Regions from separate parts of the Homo sapiens genome. Here regions 1, 2, 3, 4, 5 and 7 are each linked to region 6. Evidence: promoter capture Hi-C in 16 types of primary human blood cells and fetal thymus (Javierre and others, 2016). All regions are on one chromosome and are shown on one strand. Each heading gives the region's core, a stretch centred on a gene start or on the middle of the fragment in contact. The rest is flanking DNA. Distances are from core to core; before and after follow the strand shown. Region 1 overlaps LINC02641 (long intergenic non-protein coding RNA 2641). Region 2 overlaps LINC02641 (long intergenic non-protein coding RNA 2641). Region 3 overlaps LINC02641 (long intergenic non-protein coding RNA 2641). Region 4 overlaps LINC02641 (long intergenic non-protein coding RNA 2641). Region 5 overlaps LINC02641 (long intergenic non-protein coding RNA 2641). Region 6 holds the start of HMX3 (H6 family homeobox 3). Region 7 has its middle 93 kb from the start of GPR26.

The links. Contacts are between HindIII fragments. The CHiCAGO score rates a contact against its expected background, and 5 or more counts as called.
Region 1: a fragment that was not itself captured here is called in contact with the fragment with the promoter of HMX3 in region 6 in 2 of 17 cell types (M2 macrophages and M0 macrophages); the score reaches 8.7 in M2 macrophages.
Region 2: a contact is called between a fragment that was not itself captured here and the fragment with the promoter of HMX3 in region 6, in 3 of 17 cell types (M2 macrophages, M0 macrophages and M1 macrophages). The highest score is 7.9, in M2 macrophages.
Region 3: a contact is called between a fragment that was not itself captured here and the fragment with the promoter of HMX3 in region 6, in 1 of 17 cell types (M2 macrophages). The highest score is 6.8, in M2 macrophages.
Region 4: a contact is called between a fragment that was not itself captured here and the fragment with the promoter of HMX3 in region 6, in 12 of 17 cell types (M2 macrophages, total CD4 T cells, naive CD4 T cells and 9 more). The highest score is 10.9, in M2 macrophages.
Region 5: a fragment that was not itself captured here is called in contact with the fragment with the promoter of HMX3 in region 6 in 2 of 17 cell types (M1 macrophages and M2 macrophages); the score reaches 5.9 in M1 macrophages.
Region 7: a fragment that was not itself captured here is called in contact with the fragment with the promoter of HMX3 in region 6 in 16 of 17 cell types (M0 macrophages, monocytes, M2 macrophages and 13 more); the score reaches 13.3 in M0 macrophages.

What each region holds. Positions count from the first base shown.
Region 1 is chr10:123,495,480-123,498,950 of GRCh38, reverse strand. The region is part of intron 8 of LINC02641 (long intergenic non-protein coding RNA 2641); the gene reads right to left. Among named protein-coding and RNA genes, the nearest start is that of LINC02641, 150 kb to the right of the region's middle. RefSeq lists enhancers at 764-1,490, 1,491-2,218. The HindIII fragment of the contact is 7,946 bases long and covers 1-3,471 here.
Region 2 is chr10:123,476,039-123,479,634 of GRCh38, reverse strand. All of the region lies in intron 7 of LINC02641 (long intergenic non-protein coding RNA 2641), which reads right to left. Among named protein-coding and RNA genes, the nearest start is that of LINC02641, 130 kb to the right of the region's middle. The HindIII fragment of the contact is 2,893 bases long and covers 1-2,879 here.
Region 3 is chr10:123,447,352-123,451,019 of GRCh38, reverse strand. LINC02641 (long intergenic non-protein coding RNA 2641) reads right to left here. Exons shown (of 12, transcript XR_007062326.1): 7 at 1,508-1,667. Among named protein-coding and RNA genes, the nearest start is that of LINC02641, 100 kb to the right of the region's middle. RefSeq lists an enhancer at 3,618-3,668. The HindIII fragment of the contact is 3,057 bases long and covers 139-3,195 here.
Region 4 is chr10:123,515,677-123,519,248 of GRCh38, reverse strand. The region is part of intron 8 of LINC02641 (long intergenic non-protein coding RNA 2641); the gene reads right to left. Among named protein-coding and RNA genes, the nearest start is that of GPR26, 150 kb to the left of the region's middle. The HindIII fragment of the contact is 2,059 bases long and covers 321-2,379 here.
Region 5 is chr10:123,425,212-123,428,825 of GRCh38, reverse strand. The region is part of intron 6 of LINC02641 (long intergenic non-protein coding RNA 2641); the gene reads right to left. Among named protein-coding and RNA genes, the nearest start is that of LINC02641, 79 kb to the right of the region's middle. The HindIII fragment of the contact is 603 bases long and covers 1,647-2,249 here.
Region 6 is chr10:123,134,620-123,138,054 of GRCh38, reverse strand. HMX3 (H6 family homeobox 3) reads right to left here and starts at 2,085. Exons shown (of 2, transcript NM_001105574.2): 1 at 1,605-2,085; 2 at 1-997. The coding sequence starts at 2,004. The coding sequence ends at 324. RefSeq lists enhancers at 1-737, 1,920-2,870 and silencers at 1,657-1,706, 1,717-2,126, 2,177-2,256, 2,637-2,766, 2,797-2,916. The HindIII fragment of the contact is 8,924 bases long and covers 1-3,435 here.
Region 7 is chr10:123,571,308-123,574,911 of GRCh38, reverse strand. No RefSeq gene overlaps it. Among named protein-coding and RNA genes, the nearest start is that of GPR26, 93 kb to the left of the region's middle. The HindIII fragment of the contact is 2,389 bases long and covers 965-3,353 here.

The DNA of each region.
Region 1 (3,471 bases), core at 587-3,086, 360 kb before region 6:
CACAGATGCCTTGGGCCTCCTCTATGCACCAGACAATGAGTAAACACCCAGGTGATCCTTCCCACAAATAACGTGCAATCTGTAGGACAGCAGAGAAATAGCCACAGTTCATTTGTATCCAAAGCACTAAGGGGAGAGATTGTTTTTACCTGTGGAGTAGGGCAGAGGATCACCATTGAGGCTTCATGGAGGAGGTGGCCCTTGTATAATGGTTGGGATTAGGATTTGCAGATGGAATCTCATAAGAACCTTTATAATTCTAAATAATAATGACATCTATGCATTATCTCATCTCACAACTGCCTTAGTAGGTTTTATTGTTTACCCCTTTTCATAGATGAGAAAACAGAAGCACAGAGAGTTAAAAGAAATTCTCCAAAAGGACACAATGGTAGAAGCAGGAATCAACCTCAAGCCATTTGGCTCCAGTGCTCATGATTCTACCCACTGTGCAATGCTGCCCCTGTCTGACGAAAGTTGGCTCGTAGGGCAGGAACTATCTTGAACGAAGGCAGAGTGCTCTGGAAAGGATGGGGCATGTGTCAGGAAGACCTGGTAGCTCTGTTAAATGGAAGCATGTATTACACGAAGGTCATACAAAGGTTGAAATGTGCCATCCATTCATTCATTCAGCCAGTACTCATGGAGCATCTACCAGGTACCATGCACTGAAGACACGGTCACCAAGCAATGTTTCCAAAGACATGGGTTTGGGCTTGAGTACAAGTCAGGGAAGATACATTTTCAGAATTATCTAGACATTTCACACTTATCCCTTGCTTGTGGCTACCAAAAGCCACTGGATAGCAAAACCAAAAATATGTATCTCAAAGTATGGATTCAGAAACTACTTGAGGTAAAAGCAACATGAGGAGAGTGAAATATAGTATGCTCAGTTAAATTTGAATTTTGGATAAATAATAATATTTAAAGTGTGTCTCTGATGTTGCAAGGAGCATAATTTATGCTAGAAAAAGTATTCATTGTTCATCTGAATAATATTCAATTATTCATTGTTCATTGGAAATTCAGATTGGACTTGGCATCCTGTGTTTTTATTTGCTAGGTCTGGCACCCCTAAACCTGAGTGATCTTTTAACTAGGCTTCCCTGTTTCGCAAATGGGCCGAGGGAAGGGACCAGGTCAAGGTCACCCCCAGAGTAAGTCAGTGACACAGAGAGGAGAGGCCAGGTTCCAAGGAGCAGTCCAGGGCTCTTTCTGCTCCACAGGGCTGCCTTCCATGTCTCCAGTGAGAGGCTCCAGGAGCAGGGACAAACTCACAAATGACTGAATCAAACCACTTGGTCTTCCAATCCCAACGGGTCCATTAAACCTTCGTGTCAGCAGCAGTACAGGCTACAAAGCAGTTCTTAATCGTGGTGGGAAAAGTCAGAATTTTGAAAGTAAAATCCCCCAGCAGCAAGGGTTGCTTTGACCCTGGAATCAAAGGCTGCAGCCACAATAGGAAGCAGTTAAGCCCCAGGGGTCCTCCCTGCCCCACCCCCTGGCTGTAATTGTAGACAGGTGTGCAATGGCCAGGCGAGGCATGTTGGGTGAAATGCTTCAGGGAAAATAAAAAAGTAATATCGGCTGCAGCTTAGGGGAAATCAAATTTTCCCTTTAGAGCAACATCTCAGGAGACTGTGGCCAACTTCAAGGTGCCTTTATCTAAATACATTCCATTAGGAAAGGGGCAGGAAGAAGCCCTGGCCTCTCCAGGTAACTCAATCAGACTCCGTGGCATTCACAGGGATATCAGTTACCATAAGCCTTGTGGGGCAGTGAGGAGATTAGGAGGAGGATTACCTGCCACTTACTATGTGTCATCAAGGCAAGAACGGCTTCAGCTACAAGCTCTGTTTTTAATCGGGTCCTGGTGGGCTTTTCTCAAAAGGATGGCTGACAGCCGTTCTAAGCATGTTTTAAACTGTCCGTCACATCAGTGATAGGGACTCGCCAGTAGAGAGTGACAGCAATGTCAACAGTGGACACTGAAGGAATTTCTGACAAATGGCCTTTTGTGAAATGATGAGAAGTTGGACCAGGAGGTGCTGGCCCTGTTATGGAAACTCCAGGCCCACTTACATGTGCCCTTAAAGTCAACGTTTCTGGGCATATTTCTGCATTCTATTACACTCCTCAAACAGTCTGTGTGCTTGGACCAAGTCAATATGGTTGTCAAGGTGGCATCATCAGGTTTGACACCCCTCTGGGGACAGGCGAAGCCAGCATTAGCCCCCTCTCTGAATCTCAGCAGCAAGACAGGCCTGTGTAGGAGCCAAGAGGCAAGGTGGCTTGAAAAGACAGTTGGGACCCAAGCCGTTTGACTGTCTACACTAACAGTCGTCAGGCTATGAGAGGCGGGCCAAATCCAGCTCACCAGCTGTTTTTATAAATAAAGTTATGCTGGAAGCCAGCCACGCTCATTCATTCATGTATTGTTTATGGCTGCTTTCCCACTGCAGTGGCAGAGTTGAGTAGTAAAGGCGGAAACTGTATGGCCCACAGAGCTTCAATTATTTACTATCTGCCCTTTATAGAAAAAAAAAAAATGTGGGGGCTGATCCTTGGTCTGCACCTTTCCTTAAAGGAGGTCCACAGTCCCGTTAGCCCCAGATCTGCACAGAGTGGTGGGGGGAGGAGGACTGGGAATGAGCGGCATGTCTTAATACATTCTAAATTCCAAGATGTCAAGAGAATAATTGTGGAAGAGGAAACAGTGCTGAGGCCCAAGAACCAAGAATTCCAGGAGGAGTCATCTCAACTAAGTTGTCTCCACAAAGAATTCAAGTTGACCAGAAGACATAGAGTACTCACTTTTGATTAATTTTCCTAAAGCAGAATGCCCATCAGCCTCAGAGATCTCAGATGGCTTCCTACGAGCAGGAAAATTAGGAGAGGCCGGCTTTTAACTCCTTCTGACCCTGGCATTGATGCTGCCCACAATTTGCATGCAGACCCCTTTTTATTCCATAATTTCCCACAGAGTTCATTCTTTGCTTCCTGCCTGTCACTGCACAAGGACTGCAAGGCCAGAATGGTCACTCCAACATCTCTCTACACCCTGGCTGTGGTCCCAAATGGAACAACAGGCTGCTCCCTGAACACAGCTTGTTCCCAGGCTGTAGCCTCCACAGAGGTGGCCTGCCTTTCACTGCACCTGCGGACCCCACCTGTCCCACAAGGGTCTTCTCAAGTATATCCATGAAATTCTTCCAGATGCCTCCAGTCAGATGGCTCCTCTCCCTCCCTGAGCCTCCCAAGCAATTCTTCCAAACCTTTCTTGCGGGAATGACCAAATTCTATAACTCATTGGTCTTATCTGCTGCCAGGGAAATTAGTGGTTTCCATTTTTCTTGAGTGCTACAAAGATGCCGAGATGGGTTTGGTGAGAATGAAAACAACACTTAATGGAAACTCTGCCCACAGACCCTGAATTCCTTTCATATCAGTTGCCCACAGAGGAAGTTG
Region 2 (3,596 bases), core at 184-2,683, 340 kb before region 6:
CACTAAAGACAATGTAGTCCCATTGGCTGACCAACTCCCAGATTCATGCACCAAAGACACCTGCAACCTGCCTGGTCCAACCTGCGAATTTTACAGATGGGAAAACTCAGTCCTGGAGGCCTTTCCTGGTGAGAGACAAAGGTAGGGTCAGAATTCAAGTCTCCTGATCCCATTCAGAGCTCTTTCTGCTGATGGTACCCTCTCTCTTGGCTGGGAGGGCCTCAGCTAGTATTTTTTTCAAAATGTGCAATTATTTCCTTTACTTTTAGATTTTAACTCTTGCACAGGATGTTTTAAATGAACTTAGGGTAATTTCTGCCAGCATTACCACCTCTTTTTCTTTCTACGCACTTACAATAACATCAACATTTTACTCTGGTATCTTAAACCCAGAGGCTGGGCCTGAGCGGAGACACCGCCCAGTAGACACCAAGGTCGAGGCTGGGGTGAAATCACTTCCACTGCCAACTGAACTCCATGTTTCTGTTCTGGAAGATCTAATGGAGAACCCAGGAGAGAGGACAGCAGGGAGGAGAAGGCAGCCCTAATTCAGATGCAGATGTCACTTAGAACTTTTTACTTACACCTATAAGAGGAGTCTGTCAATATCAGAGACATGCTGGCTGTCATCTGGATATGATCCCCCAGATCGTCTCCAATCAAGAACTCTCAGAAAGGGCAGGTGGGTAAGTCTGAGACTTTACAGTCAGAACTGGCAACTAGCATTGCTTACCCCAGAAAACCTTTCTTTACCCTATGCCACCCAGCCTAGGTCATTCCTATCCCCCAACACGAGGCTTCTCTCTCTTCCTGAACACCATTGTGACAGTGCGGGCTGGGTGTCTGTTGGCCCATCTGACTCCCCACTGGGCTGGGAGCTCTTTGAAAGCAGGGACCTTGTCTGCGCTGTTGCATCTTACTGTTCTAGCAGAGTGCCTGGCACATAATATGTGCTCAAGAAATGCCAATGGCTTGAATGAATGAACAACCTCAGAGATCTGGCTCATTCACTCACTTTATAGAAGAGGAAACTAAGGTCCAAAGGGTCAAGTGGGAAATTAGAAGTGGAACCAGAGCAAGGATCAGGGCCCCCACCCTGACTTCTCTGGACTTCACATCTTTGCGAATTTACAAGGAAGCAATAAGGGTTAACCTGAACTGCTTTGTTCTGCTGTCCCAGTGTCATGCAAACCTCCTTTTCTCCACCTCTCACTCTCCAGTCCACTGCCAAGGCCTTGGAAATCCTGCAAGTTTTTATGCAAATGACCTTTGGAAACTAAAAGAAGCCAATGTTTATTTTTCATTCAAAGGTCCAGATGGGTTATATCTGCTGGGCCTGGCTGTGCCCCTGCTATCAGATGGGCATGCAAATGACCCCACTAGAAAAGACCTGGAAGAGAATAGCTCTGTTTCCAAACACACAGACATTTGCCTGGACATTTCCCTAACTCGTTCCTCTTTTCCATTTCAAACAATATATGGATCTCACAATTCCCCAGCCTAGTAAAATTCTAACAGCAGGTCGATAGAGGCCTATTGACTGGGAAGAACTTAACTGCCTTCCAGCTAGGCAGTGAGAAGTGGCCTTACCTCCTCACCTCAGCACCCAGAAATTTTAATCTAGCATGAGACCCACTTTACTAAGAAAAAAGAAGACGGGCCATTTGCCACCATCAGGGACCCAGGGGCACCTGGGAGGAAGCCCTTTGAAGAAGGCCCTTAAAAAGAGCCATTGCAAACCAAGAACCATTATTCTAGGTCATCGGCTCAGAATATCAAGATGTGAGTTTTTTGAATGCTAGTTTTATCCCCAGTTCCCAACTGCCTGTGTCATTGGGAGGGCCTAATGACCAACCTCTGAGCACTATGAGATTACTCCAGGCCAGGACAGGTAGATCTTAACCCACAGGCAAAGCACAGGCCTTCCTGTGATACCATTTTGAAATGATCTCAAGCACTTACATAGTTTGCTACATGAATGACATATGTTTTACTGTGTATTCCACACTCCCTTTGAGAGTGGGATATCTCATCAGACACTCTGTGTGAAAACTTGGAGTGAACTCCCTCCTCTCAGGAATGTGATGTCAAACCTTATCAGAATTCCCATTTGTGAGTTATGGACCTCAACTACTGGACTTCAGAATACATATTCTGTTACCAAGAGTTTAATGGACATTTGGAGAGCTTAGGCCGTGGTAGTCTACACAGTTGGCTGCTTCTAAAGACAACCAGTATGTCTGCCATCACAGCTGCTTCTCCAACACCAAGAGCTCAGGTGCAACTAGGCGACACCCTGTTAGCCTCGGGACTAATCACCAGCTCCAGCACAGTCCCCCAGTATGGAGGGTCCTTACGCTGGACCTCCAGATCTCTGCCCTGATGGTTGAGCCAGCTTCTCTGAGAGCTGCTTGTAGGAAGGTATACTCCAACCTTTACTCAGACCTTACCTTCCCCAGAGAGACCTGCTTCCATCCTAACTGAGCAACCAGACTGTAATAATTTTGGAACCCACTCACTAAGTGGTTAATGTACTTTATCTATCAAGCAGATTCCCTGTGAGCTTTCTTCTCTTTATTCTTTAAGCATCGTGACCCTAAGAAGAGATTTTTTTTGGTACGGCAATACACTATGAAATTCAAAAAATCATACTTTGATCATCTCCTTATTTCCACCGTATATAACATTCTCCCTTCCCAGGAAGGACAGAACTAGGGGCCTTATTTTAGGGTCCCTGGGACCCATCTGGATCCTGAAAAGAAAACTGGTTGCAGGAAGCCACCTCTCTGAGCAGGAATATGATGACATACTTACCATAGGACCCAGCAATTTCACTCTCGAGTACAGACAAAAGCTACACACCAATGTTTAGAGAAGCTTTATTCACAATAGCCAAAAATGGCAAGTAATGCAAATGTCCACTGATTGGGGAAAAGATAAATGGTGGGGTATCCAAATAAGTGAATACTGTTTGGCAATAAAGGAGTAAACTACTGATGGCTATAACAGGAGTGAATTTTAGAGCATTATGCTAAATAGAAGCCCAGGCTTGGAGTGGAAGGCTATAAAGGAGTGTGTTAGTCCATTCTGCATTGCTATAAAGGAATATCTGAAGCTGGGTAATCTATAAAGAAAAGAGGTTGATTTGGTTCATGGGTCTACAGACTTTACAAGAAGCATAGCTCTGGCATCTGCTTCCGGTGAGAGCCTTGGGAAGCTTCCATTCATGGTGGGAGGCGAAGGGGGAGCAGGTGTGTCCCATGGTGACAGAGAGAGAGAGAGAGCAAGAGAGATGCCAGGCTCTTTTAAATAGCCAGCTCTCACGTGAATTAATAGAGCCAAAACTCACTCATTACCACAAGGGCATCACGAAGCCGTTCATGAGGGATCCACCCCCATGACCTGACCACCTCCCACCAGACCCACCTACAACACTGGGGATCACATTTCAACATGAGATTTGGAGGGAACAAATCCAAACTATATTACTTTGCGAGGTGATGGGAATACTTTCCATCTGATTATGGAGATGGTTGTACAACTGCCTACATGTGTCAAAATTTCTCAAATTATACACTTGAAATTGGTGAATTTTA
Region 3 (3,668 bases), core at 418-2,917, 310 kb before region 6:
ACATTTTATCTCCTAGCCTTCCGAGTGATTTGGTGACGGGAGCCTTCACACAAATCAGTCTTGCTCTAGTAGCAAGAAATATATCTGCCCACCGAGTCACACACATAAAACACCAGGAACCATTTTAATGCTGAAGCTTATTTTACATGAAATTTGATTGTCTGTTTGATAGTGTATTTTTGTGTTCTAATGAACTGATGCATTCGCCAGATATGAGGTCTGAATTATGTTGGGTTCAGCAATGAAATTTTAAAATGATTGACTTGTTCCAGGTTGGGGCATCTTCGTCCCTTCTGTCACCTTCTCCCCGTTTGGCCTTACAAAAGGCAAAAATAATGTGGATGTTTTTAAGCCTGAACATTCTCTCATCTCTCTATGCCCACACCACTATGTGTGTCCTGCTTCTGCCACCTTTGACTCAGGTTATTTTCTGATATCTGCATGTCTGTCTCTCTAGACTGTGAGCTCCTCAGAGGACAAGTCATGATTGACTCATGGGTGTATCTGTCCAGTCAAGAGACTGGCAAAGAGTAGGTGCCCAGTAAATATTCACTGCATAAATGGCTGAATGATGACACCTGACCCTTTCCACCTGGCCCCATTACAATCAAATGGCAGCAGTGGGGATTAAACAGATAACCAGGCGGTCCATACATCTCACCACCACCTTCACCAGTAGCACCGCTGAGGCCAACTAGAAAGCCAGGGAGGGGCTCCTCTGTCACTAGCAAGGTCTGATTTTCTTGGGTTAACTGGCCTAAAGATTAAGGAGTCACCCCATCAATTGGTAACCCTTGCCCATCACCAATGAAAGGTAGACTTGACCTAGAAGATGTCTGAGTCCCTGATGCAGGGACGGAGTAGGGGAGGGGAAGGAAAAGGAAATGCAAGAAATTTGGACACAGGGTAGGTGTCTTACATGTTTTACAGGGCAGAGCTTTTAACAAAAGGCCCATTTACAGGCAGGAAAGGGTGCAGAAGAAGACATCATTTTTTTCTCGAGGTGCTGTCTGCTGACTGAGCGGGTGTCACTGACTCAACCTGGGGAGATGCATGGGGCCTTTGCTGGCTCTGGCCTGTGATGTGAGCTGAGCAAGTTGCTGAAGCTCTGTGGGTGTCCTTCCCCAGCTTCTAAAGTGAGAGACTGAGCCCCCTAGTCTAGCCCCCATTAATCAAGCCCTGGGACTACACAAATGACCCCTCAGGGCCCCACATCACCACCACCAAGATGGCAGGAGGTTCTCATTCAGCCCTCCCTGGCTCCGTGTGGCCCAAGCAGGTGCCCCCACTGGGCCTCAGCCTGCCTGTCCACAAAATGGGGACTCGAGTGTAGACTTCAATATCTGAGAATGGAGTTTGAGGAAGGATTAATTAAACAAGAACCTAGAAGGCCCTGAGTGAGAGAGGGCTGTTCCACCCCCAGGCAACGAAGAGAACAAAGCCCCTTCTCCCTCTCTCAGGTTGTCTGGGACCCAAGTGACACTGGGACAATGAACAAGCTGCTTACCTTATCAGAGAGGGGGAGCCCCACTGTGTAGCCAGCCCACCTCGGCCTGGCCTGCCATGTGGACAGGAGGTGCCACAGCCTCCCAGCCGCTGGGCTGAGCTTCCACTCCTGGATGTTTCTGCCTGGATCTCCTAGCAGCACGGAGCTCCTCTGGCCTCACCTAGGGGATGCCCACAAGATGGACCAGGTGAGGAGGGCAGGGCAGGGGACTAACCCAGAGCGCCTCCCATAAAACACACACACACATCCACCTCTGAACCCCAGCAGCTCTGTTTGTTTAATCTCTATCTGCTGGAGTTCTTTTTTTCTTTTTTCTTTTTTTGAGAAGGAGTCTCACTCTATCACCCAGGCTGGAGTGCAGTGGTGGGATCCTGGCTCACTGCAACCTCCACCTCCTGGGTTCAAGCTGTTCTCCTGCCTCAGCCTCCCGAGTAGCTGGGATTATAGGCATGCACCGCCATGCCCAACAGATTTTTTGTCTGTTTAGTAGAGACAGGGTTTTACCATGTTGGCCAGGCTGGTCTCCAACTCCTGAGCTCAGGTGATCCGCCCACTTTGGCCTTCCAAAGTGCTGGGATTACAGGCATGAGCTACCACACCTGGCCGTCTATCTGCTGGGGCTCTTTGTGAGCTCTCTTTTGGAGAATGGTTCTGTTACTCAAATAAAACATCTTTTAAATTTGTAATGAGGCCAGGTGTGGTGGCTCATGCCTGTAATCTCAGCACTTTGGGAGGCCGAGGTGGATGGATCACCTGAGGTCAGGAGTTCGAGACCAGCCTGGCCAACATGGTGAAACCCTGTCTCTACTAGAAAAAAAAAAAAAAAATTAGCTGGGCATGGTAGCATGCGCCTGTAGTCCCAGCTACTCAAGAGGCTGAGGCGGGAGAGTCACTTGAACTCGGGAGGCAAAGGTTGCAGTGAGCCGGGATTGTGCCACTGCACTCCAGCCTGGGCAACAGAGTGAGACTCTGTCTCAAAAATAAATAGATAGGCTGGGCGCAGTGGCTCACGCCTGTAATCCCAGCACTTTGGGAGGCCAAGACAGGCAGATCACCTGAGGTCGGGAGTTTGAGATCAGCCTGGCTAACATAGTGAAAGCCCATCTCTACTAAGTATACAAAATTAGCTGGGTGTGGTGGTGCGTGCCTGTAATCCCAGCTACTTGGGAGGCTGAGGCAGAAGCATCGCTTGAACCCAGGAAGCAGAGGTTGCAGTGAGCCAGGATCACGCCACTGCACTCCAGCCTGGGCAACAGAGTAAGACTCCATCTCCAAAACAAAATTAATTAATTAATTAATTAATTTGCAATGAACTGAGTCCAACCTGCTCTGTACACATAGACAATTGTAGCCCTAATGGGTAGGTGGGACCAGCCCAAGGAAATCCTGCAAGCTCGTGACAGAGGTTGGACCAGAAGCCACGACCCAGGCCCCCTCCCCAGACTCATCCAAAAATGACACAGCAACCACCACCACTGCCTGCACGGATCATTGCCATGTACGACCCGGACAAGATCACTATACACCGTCTACATGAATAGATTCACAACAGCCCAGAAAGGCAGGAGCTATCCCTTCATTCCCAATTCTGTGGATGGAAAAGCTGAGGCTCAGAACGTTAGGCCACTGCTGTAAGGTCTCCCAGCTAGTGAGCACTGGAGCTGGGATTTGAACCCAGCAGTCAAGCTTCTGAGCCTACATCCGTAACTGCCAACTTACACTGACAGTGTCTCTCTCTGCAGAGCTGGCAGGCCTGGCCCTCCTCCCTCCTCCTTGTTGGGGCTTTCTCAGTTTCCATGAAGAGTGGGAGGCTGAGGCCCTAAGCCCTTCTGGGTTTGGAGCCCAGAGTTCCTTTGGCAAGACTGTAGGGTTGTCAGATTTAGTAAGTGAAATTATCGGGGACACACTTTATACTAAAAGATCGTATTTGTTGTTTAACTGAAATTCAAATGTGGCTGGGTATGCTGTGTCTTACCTGGTAGGCTTACGGGGGTGGCATGTGCTTGGGGAGCTGTGAGGTCGGGGCGGCTCGCCTGTCCCTGCCTCCTGGGGCCCACAGCCATTCCCACATCCAGGCCCTTGTCCCATGCCCTAGGCTCCTTCACAGCATGGCAGCCAACTATGCCCTAGGTGGAGGCTCTGCCCGTAGGGCTATCTTGCC
Region 4 (3,572 bases), core at 101-2,600, 380 kb before region 6:
GAATGCACTTATGAGACCATAGGAACAAATGGATGTTGAGGATTCCTGGAAAATATGAATCCTGTGGTCATGATACATGTGACATTCCAACAAGAGCTCCCACTAATCCAGTGCCATGTACCTTGGGAAACCTGTGGTCAAAGTGGCATTAGTCCCATTTTACAGATTAAAAAACTGAGGCCCAGGTCCTTCAGATAGGAAGGGGGTGGTAGAGGTGAGAGTCCAAGTGTTCCTGACCCCAAGCCACACACTGTCCCATTGCACCAGGCTGCCTGCCTGCCTGGGCTGGGCTGTCCTCTGATGCCAGGATGGCCCAAGCTTCCCTCCCAGCTGAGTTCATATACACAACTCAGCAAACAGTTCCCATCCCCTTCTGCTCCTCTTACTGGGCAGGGGTTAGTCATTGGGAATGCAAATCTGAAGGGTAGGTTTGCAGCTTCTAAAGGGGTCGGACTTCATAGGGAGTTTGGTGAGCAGAGTCCACGTATTCATCAGGCACAGGGCTCAGGACAACCTTTAAGGGTCCATGAAAGTGTTTTCATTTTTATTTATCTTAAAATTCAAAGAAAGAAAGAAATATAAGAATAATGAATGCATAATAACACATCAAGCCTGGGTTATATTCATCTTTAGACCAATGCAGTTGTAAAACAAAATGCTAATTTTTTTATGGAGAAAGGGTTTCTGAAGACAAAAATGTCTAGGGCCCCTAAGTCATAACACAGCCCAGACCAGGAGGCAGGACAAGTAGAGGCATGGCCCTGGGTGTCACGTTGAGCACTTGGGGCAGGTGCACAAAGAGGTTTGGTAAGTACCAAGGATCTGGGCTCCTGAATGCTGGGCTGGCCTCCCATTCCCCAAACCCTTCTCCTCCCCCAGTGCTGAAGAGCTTCCCTGGATAAAGGAGAGAGGCCTAGAGCCCCCACAGAGCAGACAACCTCTGCACAGGGTCTTTGGCATCCTAGAAGGCCCTGGTTCCTCACCCTCTGGCTTTTCCACTCACCAATCCCACCAGGAAATGAGGTTAACCTTGAGGGGGGCTGAGACAGATGCCTCCAAAGAAGCCAGTCCTGACCCCATGCAAGCTGCTCACCCCCACCATAGGGACAGTCCTTCCCCCACGAAACCTGCTCATCCCCACCGTAAGGGACAGTCCTGACCCCACACAAGCTGCCTATCCCCACCATAAGGGACCATACGGCACTTCATCTTCTTAGCTAATGGCAAATAACAGCATCTTAGAGATCACCTACAAAACCCCCTCATTTCACAGATGGGGAAACTGAGGTCCCATGGGGAAAGGAACTCAGTCAAGAGGAGGCGTCTCTGCATTTCTAGAAGACCCTCTCCTTTCATATCCCTGCCTGCAGAAGATTAGCCTCCATTTCACACGGATCTTTTAGTGATGGCTGCTTGGGCTCATCAGAAAGGCTTCCTGGCAAACAAAATAAAACAAAGTGAGTCACTGTCTTTTATCCCCTGCCCGCATTCACATCTTCCTGTCAGGCAGAGTGCTGAGCCCAGGGCCCTCCAGCCGGTGTGGGGACCAGAGGCTCCGATGACATAATCAGGGATGGGGCACTTTCTCCACAGGTGCCATTTATTTTCAAGCATCCGTTCGATCCCTGCCGAGGGATGAAAACCACAGTGTCAACTGCCTTCAACTCCACTCCTTTGGAGGCCTGTTTGGTATTAACATCAAAGCATTCTGCATATTTATCATTCCTCCCTCGGCATTAAGCAAGACGTCTGACAGGCACACAAAAGCGCCATAGTTTCCACTTGGACTCCAGAAAGGCATCAGCAGGTTCAAACCCAAGTTGAAAATTCCCTCAAATAGGTATATTTTCTTTACTGGAAACCTGGGAAGGATTATCACTTAGCATCCTCTCCAAAATCAATTTACGTCCACTTACCAGTCGCTTCTGGTATAAAATAAAGGAGCTTACGATTCATCATTCAGGATTTAATCAATGACACCCAGCTAGCTCTGATGAGAACATTTCTGGGGTGGAGGATGGGATAATAGACAAGACCCTGTCTTTGGTCTTACGTTTTTTTCAAGAGCAATCATGCCTACTCTTTGAAATATAATGGGAACATGTTAAAATATAGATTCAAGTAGTATCTGACAAAGGAAAATATTCAACACTGGTTGTGCTCAAAGTACTTAAGTTTTCTTTGAAAAGTTAAGAAAAGGGCAGCAATCTGGAACTTTGGGGAAAAAAAACAAGCGTGCATTTGTTCAAGAAAGAAACATGAATAGAAACAATTTCTATCACGAGTGATAATTTTCTTACTTCACATCAAAACTTTATCCTGATTATTGATATGTCCATGTATGTGTTGGCTTTGCCTCCAGTGACAGCAAACAAAGCTTGTATAACTTTCAGGTTTTTTTTTTTTAGTGTGCTGGTGGACTCTTTAATGTACTAGAACCTAGCAGGGGGAGCCCTAACGAGGGGCTTCCCGGCTCATGCATCTGAGCACTGATCCTCGATGCTATGGCTTTTATCCTCTGCTCATGGTGGGACCCATGATTTCCAGGTGATTGACAAGAGCTGTGAGTGTTTCAGTAAGGTGCTTGGGTTTCCTAAGGAAGCTGAGTTTGAATGTGGCCCAGCTGTAGACTGTGGCCACAGTGGCTTTTGCCAGTAATGCTGCCAGTGGCTGAGTGCAGCACCTTCACTCTAAAGATGAGGGAACAAAAAATCAGAGCAGAGATGGGACCACCCAGCTCACCTTGCTGGAGAGAAACAGACTGAACCTACTCCCACTTGCAGCCCTGACCATCAGAGAACCCTCATCCTGCATGAGCACCCATCCAAGCAGCTCCCTGGGCAAGATGTTTTGGTGTACCTTAGAGATGAGGAAGCAAGAGACCCTGAACGAGTGATTTTCCCAAAGCCACAAGCTAAGTTGGCTGAAGAGCAGGGCTAAATTCCATTTGTCTGTGACCCTGTTGGGAGCTAGTTCATGACACCAGGCTCCACAGGCTCAGCCACGAATGTGGAATATCCTAACAAGGGAACAAGGGAGGCAGGCAAGGCTCAGAGAGCAAAGCCACCAAGGACCCCAACTCCAGTTGTTCACTCATTCATTCATGCAATAAATATTAACTGAGCACTTGATATATACCCAGCACTGGGTAAAGCCCTAAGGCTATGAAGAAGGAGAGGACATGGGCCTTGCCCTTGTGGACATCCCAAATTACTGGGGGAGACAGGCACATAACAGAGAGCGCCAGTGAAGTTATGCATGAACCAGGGGCAGGAATGTTTCTCTGCAGTAATCCTGGGAAGAGCACGAGGAACTTGGCCGTGGTCGGCCAGAGAAGCCACACAGCACAGAAGGGAGCTGGGGCTGAAGGGGGAAGGAGTTTGCCAACAGCAGGAAGGGAAAAGCATTCAGGAAATGGCCTGTACAAAGGCCCAGAGGCAGGGATGGACTCAGCTACCCAGAGAATGAGCAAAAGTTCTGTTGAGACCCAGTCAAGGAAGCTCAAGCAAGGAGCGGTTACAGAGAAATCCCCAAATCTCAGTGGCTCTGCCCAGCAAGGTCTTCCGTCTTGG
Region 5 (3,614 bases), core at 699-3,198, 290 kb before region 6:
TCTGTGTGGATCCTTCTTCCAGTTACTGTCATTGGGAAGCTGAGCCACTAACACCTAGGTGGGGAGTAAGAATATTTTCTTTAGAACTCGAGCTTCCTCCAATGGAACAAATCCTGCCAATTTGAAATTCCTCCAGCTCTCCAAAACAAGGAAACCGTATGCTTAATTACCAAACATCTGTTGCCGAGAACACCCCCTCGCCTTTGCAGCTCTGATCTCACGGTATGAATTTTAAAATCTGTCAGCAAGGGATCACAAAAGCTCCGGGAGCAAAGAGCTGCTCATGTTAACCTCTGAACCAGATAATCTAACAGTAATCCATTCAGAACTAATCAAACATTTACAGAACCGCACCGGCATCCTGGCAAACAATTCGTCATCTTCACGCGCTCATTACACTTCCAACATCTCAATCTACCTATGCAAATGAAGCAAGGGAGCTGACATCGGGACCATGTACAGAAATTATAAACAAATATTCATCCATTATGCTGCTGAAATTTAACAGCTGAAGTACTAACAGTAGCTGAACTTCAAGCCTTGAGTATCAATTATTTATGAACCTAAAACTGACAGGACTGTGTAGGTGAATTAGCTGCATATGTCAAGCTTTGTTATAAATCCCAACCTACTGTAAAACTCATTTTCATAGAATGTAGGTACAAGGCTGACAATATATCAACAGCACGGCATTAATAATTTAGAAGAATGAGACTGTCAGGGAACACCTTGCAAACTGTGCTCTGCTCCATAGTTGATATTACAAATAAAAAAGTCAAATAAAATGAATTTCCCATAAACAGAGAATCAAATAAAGCATTTTCTCCATAATTTTATTTTCAATTTTCAAAAACATATCGGTTGATACTTTCATGTTTAGGTACTAGAAGCATCACCCTAAATTTTCTTAATTTCTTCTTTTTTTTCCTCCCAAGGAAATGGCAGGAAAATTTTTGATCTAGTGATAAATGAGAGGTTTCCTTGTCTTTTATTTTTATGACAAAATAAATGCAAAATGAAAAGGAGCTGGAACAAGCATAATGTTGTTTGCTGAAGTGAAATTGTTTGCTATGGTTTGCCAATGAAAGTATATAATAAAACAAAGTGCTATGCAGTAATAAAGACGGTTAATTGAGACAGTATTTCTCGAGCTCATGTTAGGATTTTCCTGTCACTCTCTATTCAGAAATGCAGAAGCGCAGCCAGTTGCGAAATCACAGCGACTTGCTCAATTTGCAGTGTGCGATCTTCTCCTGCAGGGCTCCAACCTGAATATGCCAACAGAGAGGGCAGAAAATTCCCTGGCCAGGCTGTGGAAGGTGCGGACTGGAGGCTGCGCTGTCTTGAACCTCTGCCATCTCAGATAAAATAGCCCAAGGCACAGTCCCATCTCCCTGCCGGTCTCCCCTTCCCTCTCCCTCACTGCCAGCTTTAACCTTAGCAATCATTTTTAGGCGACTGATGCTCAACTACGGAGACCCTTTGTCACTGCTAATGACTTCTCCCTGTCCATCTTCTCCCGACTCGGGATATCTATGGCTCTGTTGCCACATTTGTCATCTCTGGCCAGGGAGGAGGCATCTCTCAGTGCGAGGGGGAACTTCAGCCTGTGTTCTTGGTCCTGGGTACCTGCTAGATGCAAAGCTTCAGCCCTCTTTGGGCGAGGAGACATGAAACACTTCGTCTCCTCTCTCATCCTCCGCTCTCCACATTCTTGGTCTTTAAGGTCAGGGGAACGGAGCCTCCTTGTCTCCAACCCCTCTTCCACGTTGGCATCTCTGCTGGCTGGGACATTCCTCACACCTTCCCAAGGTGAGGCCCCTCCTGAAGCACAGAAGCCCTGGCCAGGTGAGCCGAAGCAGCTCAGCCAACCAGACCTAAGCACGCATTAGCTCCTAATGGGCGACCTGTTCCAATTTCCTGCCTCCCTCCCACCCAGGAGCCAAACAAATCAGAAATAGTTGTCAGCAGCCTGTAGCTCCCCTCATCTCCATGAGGCTCAAGTAAAAATTAAACATTTCTCCCCAACTCACAGCCCAAAGACATAGGCCACGATTTGAAATCTGGTGACAGAGTCCTTATCTGGGTTTCCACCCAGAGGCTGAGCCTGTGTTGTCACAGGTGGAGGTTCCTGCAGGAGACACCTGAGCGCCTTCCAAAGTCTCTGCGGGCAAAGCCTGCATCCTTCCTGGTACTTGCTGATGTCCATACATTTTCTTCTCTGCAACCTTTCAGGGCATCGTTAAGCTTGCCAAGTTCTTCCAAATGGCCTTTAGTGGAGGGAACCCTGGCAAGGAGTTTTTTTTTTTTTTTTTTTTTTTTTTTAGATACTACATGAAATTACACTCTACAAAGTAGCTCCTTAGACACCCTGCTGGGGCTGGGGAAATTCTCATTTGTGAATGCTCCTTCTGCTGCGTAGGTAGAAAAGACAGCAACCCATTTTCTTCTCTTTAATCCTGATGCCAATGAGAAGGAGAAAGCTGTTCCTCCACGTGCCCCAGACAGGGCCTAAACACACGCTAGCTTCCACGGCCACCACTCTGCCCCTCGCAAACACACTCAATTTATTGTGGTCAAAGCAAGAGAAGTCTCCCTTTCCCTTTATAGGTAAATTCCCCATGACCAAAGTGACAGAAACGTGAGCAGGCAACAGTGTGACTGGCCTGGTTTTGGACCATTCTGCTCCCTTGAAAAATTACCCTGGAAAGTTAATTGATTAGAATGTCTAGGAAATGCTTGCTGTTATTCAAATGACTGTGAAAGTAGCCTCTAATGTTTCCAGTTTTATGAAATGCTAAAATATTTACACTCTTTTTACTTCAATCAAGGGGAAATCATTTGGATCTGTTTAAAAGGGGAAAGAATTAAGAGAGCTGACATTTCCGGAAGAAACAACGTTCAGGCATGCAACTGGAATTTAAATGAGTATCTGCTTTCGATGCTGACAGCAGGAGCCTTCCCTCCCATATGCCCGCAACTGCACACTCAAACCTCAGGTAGCACAGAAAAGACCAGCGCTCCGACTCCTGGGGCCAGTGGTGCTGGATTTTATTTGCACTTTTCTGGGTTTAAATATTTTGAGAATTTTTTTAAAAAGCATTTCTCTCTTCTCTGTTTATGATTCCCATTGGCTTGCACTTTTTCCTTCCGGTGTTTCATTCAGCAGAAGGGAAGGAGAGGGGTCGTTAGTTTATTCCCAAGAACAGCTAAAAGCATCACAGGAGTTATGGGCGCTGTGTTCTATGGAAGAGGAAAATATATATTTTGGTCTTGAAAGTTATTGCTTCAATTACCTAGTAATTTCTTAAGCAACCTCTGGGTGGGCTTTTAAGAGGTGGGTTTGAGAGACGCCTACAGAGACACTGTCCCTGAGTTTTTCCATTTAAACTTGTCAGAGTAGAGGTAAAGTGCCCTTTTCCATGTTAACGGTGTACAGGAGACCACCAGGAAAAGCTGGCATGTCCAGGGCACCGGGCCCTAAACTTGTCTCTAGCTGTGATTTTACAAAAACGTCAAAAGATGTTCACAGCAGCACCACTCATAATACACGAAAGGTGGAGAGAGCCCAAATATCCATCAACTAATGAATGGATAAAGAAAATGTTGTAAAT
Region 6 (3,435 bases), core at 836-3,335:
AAGGGAGGGCTGCACATTTTACAAAAACTATCGGCCGAAATCTCTGACCCGAAAATTTTGTCTTGTTCCTGCTTTCTCTTAATATAAGCCAAAAACCAAAAGTAAGAGGGGAAGCGCCTCCAATCCATTAGGGATGAATTGCACGAAAATGCATTGCAAATACTTACAAAATGCTACCGACTGGGGGAGGGGAAGCAGAGGCTGCGCGCCCAAGCCCCAGTTCCTGAAGGCCGCTGGACTTCTCGGCGCCCTCGGCCCGGCCCAGTCTCCTCCGGGGTCCGGACAAGGAGGCCGGGCGCTCCCTCCCCCACCCCTCTGGGGCCTCAGACCGGCCGTAGCAGCGGCACGGAAGAGACCACCGGGTGCGAGTAGTAGACGGGGTGCGGGAAGGTGAGCAGCGGCTGGCTGACTGGCACCGGGGCCCCCGCGGCTGCAGCCGCCGCGCCCTCGGCCGCCGAGTTCTCGTGGTAGAGGATGGGCACCCGCACGATGCGCTGCGCCGCGGCATGGCTCAGGTTGGCCGCCTCCAGCTCCGCCGCCAGCTGCCGCTTCCACTTGTTGCGGCGGTTCTGGAACCAGATCTTGACCTGCGTCTCGGTGAGGTGCAGGGACGCGGCCAGGCCGGCTCGCTCCGAGCTGCTCAGATAGCGCTTCATGTCGAAGGTGGACTCGAGCTGGAAGACCTGGCTGCGCGAGAAGACTGTGCGCGTCTTCTTCTTGCGGCACGCCGGCTTCTTCTCTGGACTTTCAGCGCCCTTCTTCCAGTCTTCTGCGCCCGGAGTGGCCGCCGCCGCCCCTACGCTCGCCCCGGCCGCGCCTGGCGCCGCTTCGCCTTCCTTTTTGCTTTCCTCGGAGTCGCTCTCCTCCAGAATGATCTCGTCCGGGCTCTTGGAGTCCAGCTCCTTGTGATCGGGGTCGGCCTTGAGCAGTGGCTCCGGAGAGTCGCGGTCTGTGCCGGAGGCGGGGGAGGAGTCTCTCAGCAAGGCCTTCTCCGAGGCTGGGGAGACAGACAGACGGACGCACACACATGCACACCGACACAGCCTTGAGCGAGGCCCGGCGCCTGGGGACGGCAGGCTCAACCCGCGCCGGCCTCCAGGTCCCAGGCCATGAGGCCTCACCATTCCCGCGGGCTGCCTCCTTCTCGGCTGGGCCAGAGAAGGGACGCCGAGTCCTGGGATCCCCCTCCTCCCGAGGACAGGCAAGCAGATGGTGGTAGCGCGGCCACCTCCTTCCATTCCCTCAGCTTCCTCGCCAGGGGCCGGCAGAACGGTTCCCTTTCGGCTTAGGCGCATTGGAATCACCCCCTCCTTCCAGGCCGTGTCCCAAGCCCCGGCCGTCCGAAGCCTCCCTATTCACGCCCGAGGCCACTTTTCCCGGGAAGCACCGTGCCCGGGGCTCCAATTCCACTTCTTTTCTCACCAAGTGGGATTGGATTAACGGGCAGCGCAACCCAGCGCGAGGGCAGGCTAGGGGCCGAAAAAAACTGACCGAGCAGAGGGTTTGCGGGTGCTGGGGTCCCAGAACTGCGGAGGGAAGCAGCGCGGGGCGGGGACGGGGCGGGCGCGCAGGGGGACAACGAAAGTTCAAAGAGAGGTCGGTACCTTCAGGTCGCGGGAGGTGGCCGCCGGCGGGGGTCAGGGTGTAGGGGTACCACCAGGCTGGGGAGCGCTCCAGGTAGTGCGCGGGCAGGGCAAACCTCTGCGCCGGGATCTCAAAGCGAGGGAAAGCCAGGTCGCCCACCTGCGAGAGCGCGAAGCCCGCGGCGCCCTCCAGGGCCCCCTTGGCCGCCGCGGCAGCGGCAGCGGCGGCGGCGGCGGCAGCCGAGGCTGGCGCGAAGAGCGTCCGTGGGGGCGGCTGAGGCTTAGGGGGCGGCCGGTGGTGGTCTCCGTTGAGCAGGTTCTTGATGGAGAACGGGGACTCCTTGGGAGCGGGTGGGGGGGGCGGCGGCGGTTGGGGCTGTGCGCTGGCGGTGCCGGCAGCGTCCGGCCCGGGTTCCGGCATGGTCCCCTCTCCTCCGGGTCCCCGGGAGGGAGGGAGCGGGACAGGCGGGCGGCGGGGCGAGCAGGCGAGAGGCCGGAAATCAGACCATAAACGGAACTCAACTACGGGGCGCAAAGTCGGGGGCCGCCCCGGGCGCAAATCCAACGGCGGGAGGGCGGAGTGAGGACCCAGACGGGCGGGCTCGCATGAGGGAGGGGTGCGGAGGGGCGGGGAGCGGCCCTGCCGCGGCACCGAGGGATCGAGGCGGCTCGGCTGCGGCTGCGGCTCCCGCGGAGGAGGCAGCAAGAGCAGTCCCCGGCTCGAGGCTGCGTCAATCCGGCGCCGGATGCTAATGATGAAATCAAAATGTCATCCAAGTTAAATGCGGGGAGTATACGGCGATTGGGCGCGTACAATGGCAAATGGGATTAGGCAGGCGAAGGCTCAGCCGAGCCCCGGCCCCGCAGCCGCCTCCGCCACCGCCCCCTCCTCGCCTTCCCTCGGATTTTGGCGCTTTGGCTTCGGGCTATAAGAGCCCGCCCGTTATTGGCTTTATATAGTCCAATTAGGCAGCAAATGAGGACAAGCCTATTAGCACAAAAGGATATTGGCTCCCGCTAAAGAGGCACTCGGAGCGCTCCTGCGAGCGCAGGAGGCGAGCGAGGGACGCGGAGCAGGCGGCGCCCTTGGCCGAAGCGCACTAACGGCCGCGAGCCCGGAGACCGCGCCTGCCTCTCCCCCCTGCGGCGCAGGGACCCGCTTCCCGCCGCCAGGCCTGCGGGAGGGGGGAGGGGCGGACCAGGCCCTCCCGGGTCACCTCGGGGTTATCTGCGCTCGCAGCTGCCGCTCCCCCGCCCCCTGGGGCTGGACAGGGGCCCGCCGCCCCCACGCAGCTGGAGAGCCACGCAGCGCCGGCCCAAGAGGCAGGACGTGACCTCGGCCCTCGGAGAACTCATCATTTTCCTACCCTTTGGGGTCCGGCGACCTCGGTATTTTTCCTAAAGCCTGCTAGGAAGGGCGAGGCCAAGAAGAGAGGGATTTGGGTTCCCCACCCACCATCCAGCCGATAGTAAGGGAATCCAGGTGTAAGTCCTCGCACTGCGTCTTCGGACTCAGAAATCCGCGTGGCCTTGGCCTTTAGCCCTGGAAAACCGAAGAGTGAGCCTTCCCCCGGGACCAGGAGTGGGTGTGCCTGTGTGCGTATGCGCGCTGACCCGGCCAAAACCCGCGCGTCACTCGGTGGGGCTGCTGGGGCAACAGCTTCTCGGCACCGACGGCTGCTCTCGGAAGGGCACCCCTCTGCTCTGGCCGCCGGTGCCCAAGGCTCGCGGATCAACTCCGAGTCTGTGACCCCGACGACAGCACTTTCTCCCAGGAAGTCTCTCCGGCCAGCTGGCGTTTGGAGCTGTCTAACTAACGCTTTAATGGGGGCAAGGTGAACCGAAGGCGCAG
Region 7 (3,604 bases), core at 910-3,409, 440 kb before region 6:
TTTTCTGTTCCAGGATCCAATCTAGGATATGATGGTCATCATATCTCCTTCATATCTGCCAATCTGTTAGAGCTTTTCAACCTTTCCTTGTTTTTCCTAACATTGAGAGTTTTGAAGAGTATGTGTCTGGTTTTTGGTAGACTGTCCTTCAGCTTGGGTTTGTCTGATGTTTTCTCATTAAGAGAGTGTTGTTTTGGATTTGGGAGAAGAATAAAACAAAGATGGAAACGCTTCCCTTTGCACCATGTCAAGCTGCACATGATGCCAACATGACTGACTGGAAGTGATGAGAACTTTGGTCACTCAGTTGAGGTGACACCTGCCAGTTTCCACCATCATGCAATTTACTTTCTTTCCCTCTCCATACTTGATTTGTCATGAGTGAGTCACTAGGTCTAGCCCACACCCCAGGAGAGAATTTTCCCTCAACACCTTTGAGACATGAACGATGCCCCCTGGGGTCTGATGACCTCCTGCTCAGACCTGGGGAGAGGGGAGGGCCAAGCCAGTGGCCCTGGCTCAGCAGGTCCTACCTTCTACAATTCTGCTCAGCTGCCCACTTGCCGCTCAAGGACAGGAGAGAGGCTGGCTGAGAACTGGCCTCTTGTTAAGAGCCTGGTGAAGGCTGGCAGGTTGGGGCCAGGTGGGGATGCTGACGAGGTTTGGGGGTGATCGGGCTGCCGCTTCTCCATCTCGTGGTTCTTCCCTACCTGCAGCAGAGAGAGAGAGGCCCATCTTCCCTCTTTGGGAAGCTGAGAGGTTCAGAGAGCACACAGACTTGGGGTTCTAGTCTTTCAGAAGTCTGAGATGTTGGTACTCCTCCATCTGGCAGGGCTCTGGATGATGGAGCCAACACAGAAAGAAAAATGGCCAGGTGGGAAGTATAGGGCTGTTTTGTCTGGCCAGATGCCCAGAACCTCCAATGTGAACCTTGGGTAAAAAAGCTCCATTGAAGAGAAAAGCTTCCAGTCAAGGGCAACTCATATTTTTGGAATGTGGAGTCTCCGGCGTGCCCTGGGAGAAGAGGAGGCAGAGGCTGGATCTGTCAGGCAAAATCTGGGCACACTTACCTAGATCAGCCCACTACCTGCCTGGTCACAGGTGGGCAGAGAGAGGCAAGCCTGCTTCTAGAACAGTAGTTCTCAACTTTAGTTGCATGTTAGACTCTCCTGAAGAGCATCAAAAATCATTCATTTCCTGGGTTCTGCCTCTAAACTGACTGTAATTTAATATTTCTCAGTGGGGTTTGGAAACCAGTATTTTTAAAATAATCCCCAGGTGATGGTTTCCCCAGGTGTTGAGCTAAGATTGTAACCCATTGCTTTGCTCCTCAAAATGTGGTCCTCTGACCAGCATCAGCTGGGAGACAGACTAGCCCAGCCCCGGGCGCCCCAGCACAGCTGAGTCAGAAGCTGCCTGTTAACAAGATCCTGGGGAAGTTTGGGAGGCGCTGGATTAGCAGGTAGGGTGTGCCTCCTGGATGGGAGCAGGAGAGCGGCTGCCCCCTGGTGGAGGAAGCACAGAGCGGGGCTAGAACATGGGCATCCACCTTTGAAACACAGTCACCATGCCCTCCAGCAAATGCTGTGGACGCCGACCAAACAGCTTAGCAACCCTCCTCCTGTGACAGGGACAAGCATCAGGCAGGTGCTGGGAGAAGCTGCCAGTGTTTCTCAACATGTCTGCCTCCCTGGGAGGTGAAGCATGGGCAGAATCCCCCAGCTTCCCACGGACAGGACAGAAACGTCAAGGGGGAAAAACACCTTCTCGCCAGTGGGTCCTGCCTCCTTACCTCCCGCTGCAGGCCTTCCTTGGTCAGGCCCTGTTTAAATCCCTCTGGGCCTCAGCTGCCTTCTCTGTAAAGTGGAAGCAATAATGATTTTCTTGTGGGTTGGTCACTGATGAGATGGCCCAGGTGAAAAGCTGGACCTGGTGTTCAGTACTGGTGAAGGCACAGTCAGGGCCTGCTTGGAACAATGTATTCAAGCCAGGGGCACTTCTCTGGGCCCAAATGAGCCCATTCCTCCTGCCTCCTGAGCAGTACCTCCTCCCTCTCCTCTCCTCTACCATCCCCTCCCCTCCCTTCCCCTTCTCTCCCCTCTCCTCCTCCTCCCCTCTCCTCCTCCTCCCCTCTCCTCCTCCTCCCCTCCCCTCTCCTCCTCCTCTCTTCTCTCCTCTCCCCCCTCCTCTCCCCTCTCTCCTCTCCTCTCCCCTCTCTCCTCTCCTCTCCCCTCTCTCCTCTCCTCTCCTCTCCTCTCCCCTCTCCTCTCCCTTCCTCTCCCCTCTCTCCTCTCCTCTCCCCTCTCTCCTCCTCCTCTCCTGTCTCCTCCTTCTCTCCTCTCCTCTCTTCTCCTCCTCCTCTCTCCCCTCTCCTTCCTCCTCGTCCTCCTCCTCCTCTTCCTCTCCTCTCCTCTCCAGATGTCGTCTCCAATGAAGTTTTGACCTTACTTTTGAGGGTTCCAACTCTGCCAAGACAGCACAGCCCTCCTCTGATCAGGAGGCAGAGCGACTGTCACCAAGGCTCATATCACACTGGTTTCATCAACATCTCTACTTTTGATGCGTTTGGCAAAGTGGCTCCTGAGAGGTACTTAGGAACAAACGCCAGCACCTGCTCTGTGCTACCACCTTGAAATCCACTATTTCCTGTCATCTTCCTGAGAACACTGTGATGTGTGGCTTATCATCCCCCAGGCAGATGTGTGAGGAGCTGCAGATCAGAGAGGGGAAGTAACCTGCCCACGCTCACACAGCACTGGAGCCCACTGTGAAGCTGGGGTTCGGATCCCGTCCTGGTTCTGTGAGACTCCGAAGCCTGCTCCTTTCACAAACCCTGCCACTTTCCCTTTTCCCTTTCTCCCTTCTCTCCGTCGTGTTTTTGGTTAAACAAGACAATTAATTTTTACTCAAAGTGAAAAATAACAGAATAGGAAGATACAGTTCCATAAAGAAATATAAATCAATGCATCTGCTAGAAAATAGCTGCTGCTTTACCCGGCCCTGGGGGTGCTACTCCCCTGCCTGTGATTTGCAGCAGACGCTGTGATTTTAAAAAAAGTTCTGAATCCCTTGAGGAAGAATCAGAGATGAGAAGGGTTGAAGGCTTCTGTGCTCCCGTCCAGCTTCCTTCACCCCAGCCCCCACCACCCTGACAGGTCTGTCCCTAGCAGAAAAGCCTAAATCAGGGGTAGGGGACCTCAGGGGAAGGCGATCCCCACCCCAACCCACCCCTTAGCATCAGTTTCTGCTGGATCTTGAAGTTTGGAAATTTGAGGAGCATGAAGTCCATGTTTCTCTGGGTCAATGGGAACAAAATTCAGGATTTTTTTTAGAAATGTCCCCTAAAATAAGCTTTTCAGACCGACCCCTCCCACTTCCTAAACTGCTTCCTAGCCCTGCTCTCACGTGACACTCCCCGCACTGCATGACAGAACTTGCCCCCTCTTGGTTGAAGCTGTGGTTTCACTGAGGGATATTAAGTCCGAACTCGGGCCAGGTCCCCAAGGGAGAGACGTGCATGAAGGAGGCAAAGGAGGCAAAGACACAGTGCGCCATGGCTGAGACTGGGCCTCAACTCCAGTGGGAGGTTTGGGTAAAATACAAC